Linked DNA regions of Homo sapiens: all the other regions are linked to region 1. Evidence: promoter capture Hi-C in human tissues and cell types (Jung and others, 2019). All regions are on one chromosome and are shown on one strand. Each heading gives the region's core, a stretch centred on a gene start or on the middle of the fragment in contact. The rest is flanking DNA. Distances are from core to core; before and after follow the strand shown.

Region 1 (4,003 bases), core at 963-3,462:
TGTACAACATGATGTTTTTATATATGTATAATATAGTGAAATGATTATCATAATGAGGCTAATTAACATATCCCTCACCTCACATAATTACTATTTTTTGATGTGATAAGAACATTTATGCTCTATTCTCAGCAAATTTCAAGTATATACATGAATATACAATACTATTAACTGTATCAAGCATAATACAGTGTTATAACTATAATGACCATGCTGCACGTTAGATCCCCAGAACTTAGTCATCTTGCATAACTGAAACTCTACATCCTTTGACCAACATCTAGGCAAATTTACAGAGGCAAAAAAATTGATTTGTGGTTGCCTAGGGATACGGTGAGGGGATTGGGAGAAAATGGGGAGTGTCTGGGAATGGGTACAGGGTTTCTTTTTGGAATGATGAAATGTTCTAAAACTGATTGTAGTGATGGATACACAACTCTGTGACTGTATACTAAATCCTATTGAATTGTACTCTTTAAAAGACTGGATTTCATGGCATTTGGATTTTATCTCTGTGATAAATAATCAATCTCATAATCCAATCAATCACCTAATCTAAGCAACCAGATCATATACACTAATATATCGTTCCAAATATGTATCAAGTTTTTCTTGAGTACTTTCCATGTGCCAGGCAGGAAGACTTGACTTCATAATCTCATCTAAGCATCACAACAACCTTGTGAAATATGTATATTATGTCCAGAAACTGAGGCTCAGGGATGTTAGGTAATCCACAGTGGCTGAGCTGTGAGTTTAACCTAGGTGCAATTCCAAACACAGCACTCCTAACGTCTATGTAATAAGGTTTCAGTTGTATAGTGTGTGTTTTCTTTCCCTAGTTAGATTAGGACTAGGAGGGCAAGGATTTTATTTTATGTTTCCTTCATAGTCTCTTCATTGCTGTACCAGCTACTACACATAGTGCTCAATAAATGCTCAATAAATACTTAATGAATGCCAAATGGAGCTGCAGCTGGTTGAAAATACCAATTCTTTCAGAACGGATTTAGATTTTAGATTCATGGGTAATATATTCATCATGGATCATTAAAAGAAGCAAGGATATTTGAGTCCATCCTTAGTCCCCAAGATGTCTTGGTGGAGCAGGGACCACACTTTCACAACCTTTGGTGCTTTCTTATGAGTAAGAATTGATTGGGTCAGATGGATTATGGATCTGACCCAATGTGATCATTCGTAGATTCTTCGGGTCCTTTTCTGTTTCCTAGTATCTCCTAGCCTAAACGGACCTACCCTGCTGCTGATGCCTCTCCCTGTTTGTCTTTCCTTGTGGCCACATCCCTCTTCTTGTTCATTTGAATAAGATATGGTGCCTACGGGAGGCAGGCATTGAAGTCCAACAGGCCAGGTTTTATCAAAGGTGGTCAACAATAATTATGGTGTGGTGTCAAACAAGTCATGCCTCTGAGCCTCAGCTTACACATCAATAAAATGGAACTAAACAAGCTTCCTCCTCCAAGATGTTGGTATTGTCAGAATTTCACATTTAATAGTTTAATATTTATAGGCAGCTGGAGACACATTATAGAGAGATTGGGGCCTATAAATCAATTTAGACTGGATTAATTATCTGTATACAGGTGGCTTGAAATCATCTTCCATTCTCCTGCTGCCTGCATTAGAAACACCCACAGCTGAGCGTGAGAGCTGAAGGGTCAGGGTCAGATGTGTAGACAAGAAAGCTAAGGAAGAAAGACTGAGAGTGAGGTGGAGACTCCCCTGCTGTGTTCCGCTTCACTCCTGACACACACACACACACACACACACACACACACACACACACGCACCCAACTCCCCCCCATCACACCCCACCTACCTTCCCCATTCCTGCCCAGAATCACTGGTCCTAACAGGGCACAGAGGTGGAAAATCTCATGGGTTCTTTGGCCAGGAAGCCTCTTATTGTCCTGTTCTGACGACCAGCGAGACAAATGGGAAAAGACTGCCCTCCCCCTTTTCTCGCTCCCCGGCACGCCAGGCTTGCTAGTGAGGATGGGACGCAGTCTCAGGCCCCACGCAATCCTTTTGCAAAGCCAAGAAGTGTGTGTGTTGTGTGTGTGTGTGTGTGTGTGTGTGTGTGTGTGTGTGTGTATTGTGTGTAGCGAGGAGGATTGGGGGTGGGATCCCATGACGTTACCGGCTCCGCCTCCTGGTGTATATAAGGGGCGCTTGGCGCGCAACGACCCCAAGCCGCAGCTTTGAAGCCTGAGCGGCCGAACTCGGCAGCTCCAACCCAACTCGGCTTAACTCCGCCTCACCGAGCCCAGTCCAAGACTCTGTGCTCCCTAGGTTTGCAACAGCTCTCTGGTAAGCGTTGGGGACCCACACGTGTGTCGGAGGGGGGACGGCGAGGGTCCGGGCGTACCTAGGATTCTCTGGCAACCATGGCATGCAGTTGCATCAACGGGGCCGTGACCTGTTGCTGGCGAGACCCCCGCCCCGGGAGTTAGGGCTCCCGTCTCCACCCCAGCTCCAAACCATTTCTAGATGGGGGCAGGAAAATCTGGGACCTGAGTCGGGGGGCATCGGGTGGAACCCTTCCTCTCTGCTGAGAGGAGAGTGCGAGCAATCTCGGGCTGCCCTGGGGCCCCTCTGGGGGCGCATCTCCAAATCTTTAGATGTCGAAGCCCCGCCTCGCTGTTGATGCTTGCAGGTCAGCCTAGCAGGGCTTGGGAGGAAGTAGGGGAACATTTGCTTACTCCCCTGGGCGACAGCTGCGCTAGTTGAGCAGTGTGGGCTTGGTGAGGAGGGATGGAATTGAGTCGGTGCTCACTTTTAATCTGCAGCGAGGTTGGTCCCCTCTCCCTCTGGGGGGTCTGGGGGCTGTGTCTGTTTGAAGCCCCGGGGGAAGCCCCTGGGTGGAGCTCTGTTTAATTCCCAAATAGCCACAGGCCAAGGAACTGACACATTAGGTTTCAAGATTCCTGGGTTGAGATTAGGATAAACCCTATCAGTTTCTGGCAAGAGAAAGAGACCTAATATTGATTGAGCACTTACTAGGCGCCAGCCACTCTACTTCAGGGGGCTTTCACGTGCCATTTCTGAAATTAGCCCTTCCAAAAACCTTGTAAGGTATTGTAATTCCTACTTGTTTATGAAGAAACTGAGGTTAGAGGTAAAGTGACTTGCCTTTGTCCCTTCCATATCCCCGTCCTCATTTCCCAATAGCTCCTTTGCTTGGTGGAGGGGGTCTTGTAATTCGCTTTCAGAGTTTAGGGATAATGAGCCCTGTCGAGGGGTTTTTGTCTTGTTTTTCACCAGATCATCTTCTTCAATTCCTGCTAGGATGCCGTGGCAAGCATTTCGCAGATTTGGTCAAAAGCTGGTACGCAGACGTACACTGGAGTCAGGCATGGCTGAGACTCGCCTTGCCAGATGCCTAAGCACCCTGGATTTAGTGGCCCTGGGTGTGGGCAGCACATTGGGTGCAGGCGTGTATGTCCTAGCTGGCGAGGTGGCCAAAGATAAAGCAGGGCCATCCATTGTGATCTGCTTTTTGGTGGCTGCCCTGTCTTCTGTGTTGGCTGGGCTGTGCTATGCGGAGTTTGGTGCCCGGGTTCCCCGTTCTGGTTCGGCATATCTCTACAGCTATGTCACTGTGGGTGAACTCTGGGCCTTCACCACTGGCTGGAACCTCATCCTCTCCTATGTCATTGGTGAGATATGGTGGGGGAGGGAGGGAACTGCACAGCCAGCAAAGGGGTTTTTGGTCAGGAAATCTGGGTGGAAGTATTCTTTATATTATTCACAGGACCTCAATCTCCCTAAATGTGCGGGTTTGCTGGGGGTCTGGGGGGGGGTGTTGAAGGTGTGGAGAAATTGCTCATTCTATCCATCTCCGTCCTGGTTTCCTTAATTAAGTGAATGGTTTTGGTTCTTAAAAAGTAATAATAGGCCAGGTGCAGTGGCTCACGCCTATAATCCCAACACTTTGGGAAGCCGAGGCAGACAGATCACCTGAGGTCAGGAGTTCAAGACC
Region 2 (4,003 bases), core at 463-2,962, 57 kb after region 1:
AATATTTTCCCGTGTTAAAAACATAGTTTTCATGACCACTATTTTATTTTATTTTTGTTTTTATTTTTATTTTTTTGAGGCAGAGTCTCGCTCTGTCGCCCAGGCTGGAGTGCAGTGGCACGATCTCGGCTCACTGCAACCTCCACCTCTCAGGTTTAAGTGATTCTTCTGCCTCAGCCTCCCGAGTAGCTGAGACTACAGGTGTGCACCACCACACCTGGCTATTTTTTTTTTTTTTTTTGTATTTTTAGTAGAGACGGGGTTTCACCAAGTTGGCCAGGCTGGTCTCGAACTCTTGACCTCAAGTGATCCACCTGCCTCGGCCTCCCAGAGTGCTGGGATTACAGGCGTGAGCCACCATGTCTGGCCATGACCACTATTTTAAATGGATGAATACTATTCCATCAAGGAAGGTTATCATAATTCACCTATTTCTTTATTATTGGATATTTATATTGTTTCTCATATTGTTCCTCATTTTTCACTATTATAAATAATGATATGAAGAACACTATTAAGTGCAAAGATTATCCCCCCACACATTTTCATCTATTTCTTAGGATAAAGTCTCAAAAGTGCAACTATTGGGACAAAAGATATGAACTTTATTTGTTTATTTATTTATTTACTCATTTATTTATTTTTATTGAGACAGAGTCTCGCTCTGTCTCGCCCAGGCTGGAGTACAGTGGCATGATCTTGGCTCACTGCAACCTCCGCCTCCTGGGGTCAAGTGATTCTCATGCCTCAGCCTCCCGAGTAGCTGGGATTACAGGCACCTGCCACCACGCACGACTAATTTTTGTATATTTTAGTAGAGACAGGGTTTGACCATGTTGGCCAGGCTGGTCTCGAACACCTGACCTCAGGCAATCCGACCGCCTCGGCCTCCCAAAGTGCTGGGATTACAGGTGTGAGCCACCGCACCCAGGCGAACATTTTTATATGTTGCCAAATTGCTTTCCAAAATGCCAAACAAGTAGCTTCTTTAAGCTATTTAGTCTGGATGCTCATTTCCCATCATAATATGTCAAATCATTTGTTCTTCTGGGTAATTTGGAGTGCAGTTATTAACTCCATGTGTTTTTAGTGATACAAATGAAATAATACTTAGTATGAAAGTCAGCCGGGTGTGGTGGCTCATGCCTGTAATCCCAGCACTTTGGGAGGTTGAGGCGGGCGGATCACCTGAGGTCAGGAGTTCGAGACCAGTCTGGCCTACATGGTGAAACCCCATCTCAAGTAAAAATACAAAAATTAGCCAGGCATTATGGTGGGTGCCTGTAATCCCAGCTACTTGGGAGGCTGAGGTGGGAGAATCACTTGAACCCGGGAGGTGGTGGTTGCAGTGAGCCGAGATCACGCCATTGCACTCCAGCTTGGGCAACAAAATGAGACTCTGTCTCCAAAAAAAAAAAAAAAAAAAAAAAGGAAGTCATCATTTGATCAACTGTGGCATTGAGGATACTATGTGATGGAGATGGACATGATAATTAGCCCCAGAATAATAAGTGAAATGACAACCATGCTGCATTAGGCTGTTTGCATTGCTATAAAGGAAATACCTGAGGCTGGGTAATTGATAAGGAAAAGAAGTTTATTTGGCTCATGGTTCTGCAGATCATATAAGAAGCATGGCACTGGCATCTGCTTCCAGTGAGGGCCTCTGGAAGTTTCCAATCATGTTGGAAGGGGAAAGGGAGCAGGCATCACATGATGAGAGAGGAGGAAAGAGAAAGGAGGAGGTACCAGGCTCTTTTTTAAGAATCAGATCTTGCAGTAACTAATAGACTGAGAACTCACTCATTACTGTGAGGACAGCACCAAGACAATGAGGGATCCATCCCCGTGACCCAAGTACCTCCCATCAGCCCCACATCCAACATTGGGGATCAAATTTTGATATGAGATTCTCAGGGGAAAAATATCCAAACTATATCACATGTTAAATAAATCATCTGTTTAAACTGAAGCTCATCAGAAAAATGTGAAATGGTAAGTGAGAAAAGTGGCATGGAAGAAAAGACTTAAAACTAACATACATTTTGTACCACTGCTGTGCATAAATTGGGTTAAAGAAAAGAAATAAAACAAAGAATAAATGATACAAAGTAATATAATTAATTGCCAAATTGTATACAACTTAATGAATATATGAATTCAAAGAAGAAAGAACAACGTAGACTGTAATGGTTGCTGAAAGCTTCATTTATGTTGTTGGTGAGACTGAAATGGATTTGAGTTACATAAAAACAAAGGGAGGAGGTATATCAGGTGAAGGTATATCAATAGTATGAATAAAGACACATTGATAGGAATGAACAAGTTGTGTTCAGGAAATAGATAATTACTCTAACAGTGGGTAAGTTTTTGCGGGGAGAGGTAGAATGCGACTAGATTATGGAGGGCCTGGAAATGACCCACAATAGTTACATAAGCATACAACATTCAAGAATGAAAATACCGTTGGAGGTGGCCAGTATTTTAACTAACTAAGGAAATGTTTCTCTTTGACCAGATTGAAGAAATGGCAGTAAACCTATGGAACTGGGCACTTACCATAGGAGGAGGTTGGCTTGTAAATGAAGAGCAGAAAATTAGATGTATGTATACATATTGTGACATGTATTATGAGGCGTGTTCTTACTATATATTGGGTAGTATTCCTGCAGTTTAAATAATGTTTTGACCCATTCTTAGATAGAGATTTGTTAAAAGACAAACAAAACAACCCAGGAACAATGGTTTCTCAAGCAAATGGCCTCCCTCAGTTTTATGATTTTTTTTTCAGAGGTTAGCTCCTTATTAACAAACGTTTAAAGATATCACTGCAAGAAATAGTCAGGAGGTGAACAACAAAGATGATTAAAAGGTGGGACAGTGAGAACTTAAAGAAATGTTAAAGGACATGGATTATTTCTCATGGAGATGATCAAAATCTTCAGGGTTCTGAAGGACCATCAAATAGTAGTTTCCCCTCTATTAATAATAGAATAAGTGTTGCCATATGACATATTCAGATTTTAAAAAGTGTAAAGAATAGTTTCCTCAGGAGATGGATTGATAAACATTGGAATGAGTTACTGAGAAACTATAGAAATGATTTCTACCTGTGAGAGCAAACAACAAGAACAAAAAAACCAAAAATCTCAAACTAAACTCATCTTCTTGGATGCTTTGAATGTGGTCCACTGTCTGGCAATGTTCTAGTGCTTTAGCTAAATGGGCAAAGTCTAGTGTGCTGACAGTTAGTGATTTTCAACAGGCATAGTGACAGCAAATGCATTTATGGGAAGTATATTGCCAATTATAAAGGATACATTGAAGTAACATACCAAAGGGTGAACCTCTGGACTGCTTGACATTGTAAAGACAAATGACTTTTGTCTGTATGCAACAAATATAATTTACTACTAACTATTTATCTTTGTGAATATGAACAAAACTGTATACAACTTCCGTGTAGATATAGGGTAATTGTGCTTAATATAATCAAGAATATACTTGCTCATGAGTCCACTCTATTAGCATGTTTAGAGAACAGTTCTAGCTCTTTAACTCTTAGATAAATTGATATCATTGCTCCCAGGAGCCTCAGATCCTGTAGTTATGGGGAGGTAAGAGCTAGGAATTTATCAGTGGAAGAAACTTAGTACACAGGTGAACCGTGTGATATTAAAGTGCGTTAATTCTTAACTCCTACCATTCTGCATATGAGGAAGTATTGCTTTAGCTGTTTACTGCTTATCAGATAGGGATATGGTAGATGAAGTGGGTGTCACAGCCTCTTCCCATGTACTGTCTCATTTCTTTTTTTCTTTTTCTTTTTTTTTTTTAAGGGACGGCAAGGGGTGAGGGCAGAACCACACAGTGTTGATGGGGTTAGGGCCAGGGAGATGAGAGAGCTAGGGAAGAGAAAAGAGACTGTTAAAAAAAAGGGGGGGTGCTGTAAGAGGAAAAATACTAAATGGGTGGGGAAAGTGGAGAAAAAAGGGGGAAGCAA
Region 3 (4,003 bases), core at 1,116-3,615, 37 kb after region 1:
TATAATCACTAATGGGATTGCTGGGTCAAATGGTATTTCTGGTTCTAGATCCTTGAGGAATTGCCACATTGTCTTCCACAATGGTTGAACTAATTTACACTCCCACCAACAGTGTAAAAGTGTACCTATTTCTCTGCATCCTCTCCAGCATCTGTTGTTTCCTGACTTTTTAATAATCGCCATTCTAGCTGGTGTGAGATGGTATCTCATTGTGGTTTTCATTTGCATTTCTCTAATGACCAGTGATGATTAACTTTTTTTCATATGTTTGCTGGCCGCATAAATGTCTTCTTTTGAGAAGTGTCTGTTTATATCCTTTGCCCACTTTTTGATGGGGTTGTTTTTTTCTTGTAAATTTGTTTAAGGTCCTTGTAGATTCTGGATATTAGACCTTTGTCGGATGGATAGATTGCAAAAATTTTCTCCCAATTCTGTAGGTTGCCTGTTCACTCTGATGGTAGTTTCTTTGGCTGTGCAGAAACTCTTTAGTTTAATTAGATTCAATTTGTCAATTTTGGCTTTTCTTGCCATTGCTTTGGTGTTTTAGTCATGAAGTCTTTGCCCATGCCCATGTCCTGAGTGGTATTGTGTAGGTTTTCTTCTAGGGCTTTTATGGTTTTAGGTTTTACATTTAAGTCTTTAATCCATCTTGAGTTAATTTTTGTATAAGGTGTAGGGAAGGGATCCGGTTTCTGTTTTCTGCGTATGGCTAGCCAGTTTTCCTGGCACCATTTATTAAATAGGGAATCCTTTCCCCATTGCTTGCTTTTGTCAAGTTTGTTGAAGATCAGATGGTTGTAGATGTGTGGTGTTATTTCTGAAGCTTCTGTTCTGTTCCATTGGTCTATATATCTGTTTTGGTACCAGTACCATGCTGTTTTGGTTATTGTAGCCTATTAGTATAATTTGAGGTAAGACAGCGTGATGCCTCCAGCTTTGTTCTTTTTGCTTAGGATTGTCTTGGCTATACAGGCTCTTTTTTGGTTCCATATGAAATTTAAAGTAGTTTTTCTAATTCTGCAAAGAAAGTCAATGATAGCTTAGTAGGAATAGCATTGAATCTATAAATTACTTAGGTCAGTATGCCCATTTTCATGATATTTATTCTTCTTATCCATGAGCATGGAATTTTTTTCCATTTGTTTGTGTCCCCGCTTATTTCCTTGAGCAGTGGTTTGTAGTTCTCCTTGAAGAGATCCTTCACATTCCTTGTAAGTTGTATTCCTAGATATTTTATTCTTTTTGTAGCAATTGTGAATGGGATTTCACTCATGATTTGGTTCTCTGCTTGTCTATTATTGGTATATAGGAATGCTTGTGATTTTTGCACATTGATTTTATATGCTGAAGTTGCTTATCACCTTAAGGAGTATTTGGGCTGAGATGATGGGGTTGTCTAAATATACAATCATGTCATCTGCAAACAGAGATAATTTGGCTTCCTCTCTTCCTATTTGAATACCACTAATTTCTTTTTCTTGCCTCATTGACCTGGCCAGAACTTCCAACACTATGTTGAATAGGAGTGGTGAGAAAGGGCATCCTTGTCTTGTGCCAGTTTTCAAAGGGAATGCTTCCAGCTTTTACCCATTCAGTATGATATTGACTGTGGGTTGTCATAAATAGCTCTTATTATTTTGAGATATGTTCCATCAATACCTAGTTTATTGAGAGTTTTTAGCATGAAGGGCTGTTGAATTTTATTAAAGGCTTTTTCTGCATCTATTGAGATAATCATGTGCTTTCTGTCATTGGTTCTGTTTATGTGATGGATTATGTTTATCGATTTGCGTATGTTGAACCAGCCTTGCATCCCCGGGATGAAGCCGACTTGATCGTGGTGGATAAGCCTTTTTGATGTGCTGCTGGATTTGGTTTGCCAGTATTTTTTTTTTTTTTTAGACGGAGTCTCGCTCTGTCGCCAGGCTAGAGGGCAGTGGCGCAATCTTGGCTCACTGCAACCTCTTCCTCCCGGGTTCAAGTGATTCTCCTGCCTCAGCCTCCCGAGTAGCTGGGACTACAGGCATGCGCCACCACGCCTAGCTGATTTTTGTATTCTTAGTAGAGACGGGGCTTCACCAGGTTGGCCAGGATGGTCTCGATCTCTTGACCTCATGATCTGCTTGCCTTGGCCTCCCAAAGTGCTGGGATTACAGGTGTGAGCCACTGCGCCTGGCCTGGTTTACCAATATTTTATTAAGGATTTTTGCATCAGTGTTCATCAGTGATATTGGCCTGAAATTTTCTTTTTTCGTGTGTGTGTCTCTGCCAGGTTTTGGTATCAGGATGATGCTGGCCTCATAAAATGAGTTAGGGAGTAGTCTCTCTTTTTCTATTGTTTGGAATAGTTTCGGAAGGAATGGTACCAGCTCCTCTTTGTACCTCTGGTAGAATTCAGCTGTGAATCTGTCTGGTCCTGGGATTTTTTTGGTTGCTAGGCTATTAATTACTGCCTCAATTTCAGAACTTGTTATTGGTCTATTCAGGGATTTGACTTCTTCCTGATTTAGTCTTGGGAGGTGTATGTGTGCAGGAATTCATCCATTTCTTCTAGATTTTCTAGTTTATTTGTGTAGAGATGTTTATTGTATTCTCTGATGGTAATTTGTATTTCTGTGGGACCAGTGGTGATAGCCTCTTTATAATTTTTTATTATCTATTTGATTCTTCTCTCTTTTCTTCTTTATTAGTCTAGCTAGTGGTCTATCTATTCTGTTAATCTTTTCAAAAAACCAGCTCCTGGACTCAATGATTTTTTGAAGGGTTTTTTGTGTCTCTATCTCCTTCAGTTCTGCTCTGATCTTAGTTATTTCTTGTCTTCTGGTGGCTTTTGAATTTGTTTGCTCTTGCTTCTCTAGTTCTTTTAATTGTGATGTTTGGGTGTCAATTTCAGATCTATCCAGCTTTCCGATGTGGGCACTTAGTACTATAAATTTCCCACTTAACACTGCTTTAGCTGTGTCCCAGCACAACAACCCTGGTATGTTGTCTCTTTGCTCTCATTGGTTTCAAACAACTTCATTATTTCTGCCTTAATTTCGTTATTACCCAGTAGTCATTCAGGAGCAGGTTGTTCAATTTCCATATAGTTGTGTGGTTTTGAGTGAGTTTCTTAACCCTGAGTTCTAATTTGATTGCACTGTGTTCTGAGAGACTGTTTGTTATGATTTCCTTTCTTTTGTTATGATTTCCGTTCTTTTGCATTTGCTGAGGAGTATTTTACTTCCAATTATGTGGTCAATTTTAGAATAAGTGCTATGTGGTGCCGAGAAGAATGTATATTCTGTTGATTTGGGGTGGAGTGTTCTGTAGATGTCTATTAGCTCCACTTGGTCTAGAGTTGAGTTCAAGTCCTGAATATCCTTGTTAATTTTCTGTCTCGTTGATCTGTCTAATATTGACAGTGGGGTGTTGAAGTCTCCCACTATTATTGTGTGGGAGTCTAAGTCTCTTTGTAGGTCTCTAACAACTTCCTTTATGAATCTGGGTGCTCCTGTATTGGGTGCATATATATTTAGGATAGTTAGCTCTTCTTGTTGTATTGATCTTTTTACCATTATGTAATGCCCTCATCTTTTTTGATCTTTGTTGGTTTAAAGTGTGTTTTATCAGAGACTAGGATTGCAACCCCTGCTTTTTTTTTGCTTTCCATTTGCTTGGTAAATAACCCTCCATCCCTTTATTTTGAGCTTCTGTGTGTCTTTGCACGTGAGATTGATCTCCTGAATACAGCACAGTGATGGGTCTTGACTCTTTATCCAATTTGCCAGTATGTGTCTTTTTTTTTTTTTGAGACTAAGTCTTGCTTTGTCTCCCAGGCTGGAGTGCAGTGGGTCGATCTCATCTCACTGCAACCTCCGCCTCCCAGGTTCAAGGGATTCTATTGCCTCAGCCTCCCAAGTAGCTGGGATTACAGACGTGTGCCACCACGCCCAGCAATTTTTTGTATTTTTAGTAGAGACAGGGTTTCACTATGTTGGCCCAGCTGGTCTTGAACTCCTGA

Evidence for each region. The method cuts DNA at HindIII sites, captures the fragments that hold promoters and counts their contacts. A contact is called where the count stands out against the background at its distance.
Region 2: a fragment that was not itself captured here is called in contact with the fragment with the promoter of SLC7A3 in region 1 in 1 of the 25 tissues and cell types used here (small bowel).
Region 3: a fragment that was not itself captured here is called in contact with the fragment with the promoter of SLC7A3 in region 1 in 1 of the 25 tissues and cell types used here (neural progenitor cells).

The regions. Positions count from the first base shown.
Region 1 is chrX:70,929,305-70,933,307 of GRCh38, reverse strand. SLC7A3 (solute carrier family 7 member 3) reads left to right here and starts at 2,212. Exons shown (of 12, transcript NM_032803.6): 1 at 2,212-2,331; 2 at 3,286-3,680. The coding sequence starts at 3,311. RefSeq lists an enhancer at 2,468-2,969. The HindIII fragment of the contact is 11,797 bases long and covers 1-4,003 here.
Region 2 is chrX:70,871,823-70,875,825 of GRCh38, reverse strand. TEX11 (testis expressed 11) reads left to right here. Exons shown (of 30, transcript NM_031276.3): 4 at 2,519-2,603. Among named protein-coding and RNA genes, the nearest start is that of SNORD3E, 28 kb to the right of the region's middle. The HindIII fragment of the contact is 9,503 bases long and covers 1-4,003 here.
Region 3 is chrX:70,892,521-70,896,523 of GRCh38, reverse strand. All of the region lies in intron 2 of TEX11 (testis expressed 11), which reads left to right. Among named protein-coding and RNA genes, the nearest start is that of TEX11, 14 kb to the left of the region's middle. The HindIII fragment of the contact is 5,725 bases long and covers 1-4,003 here.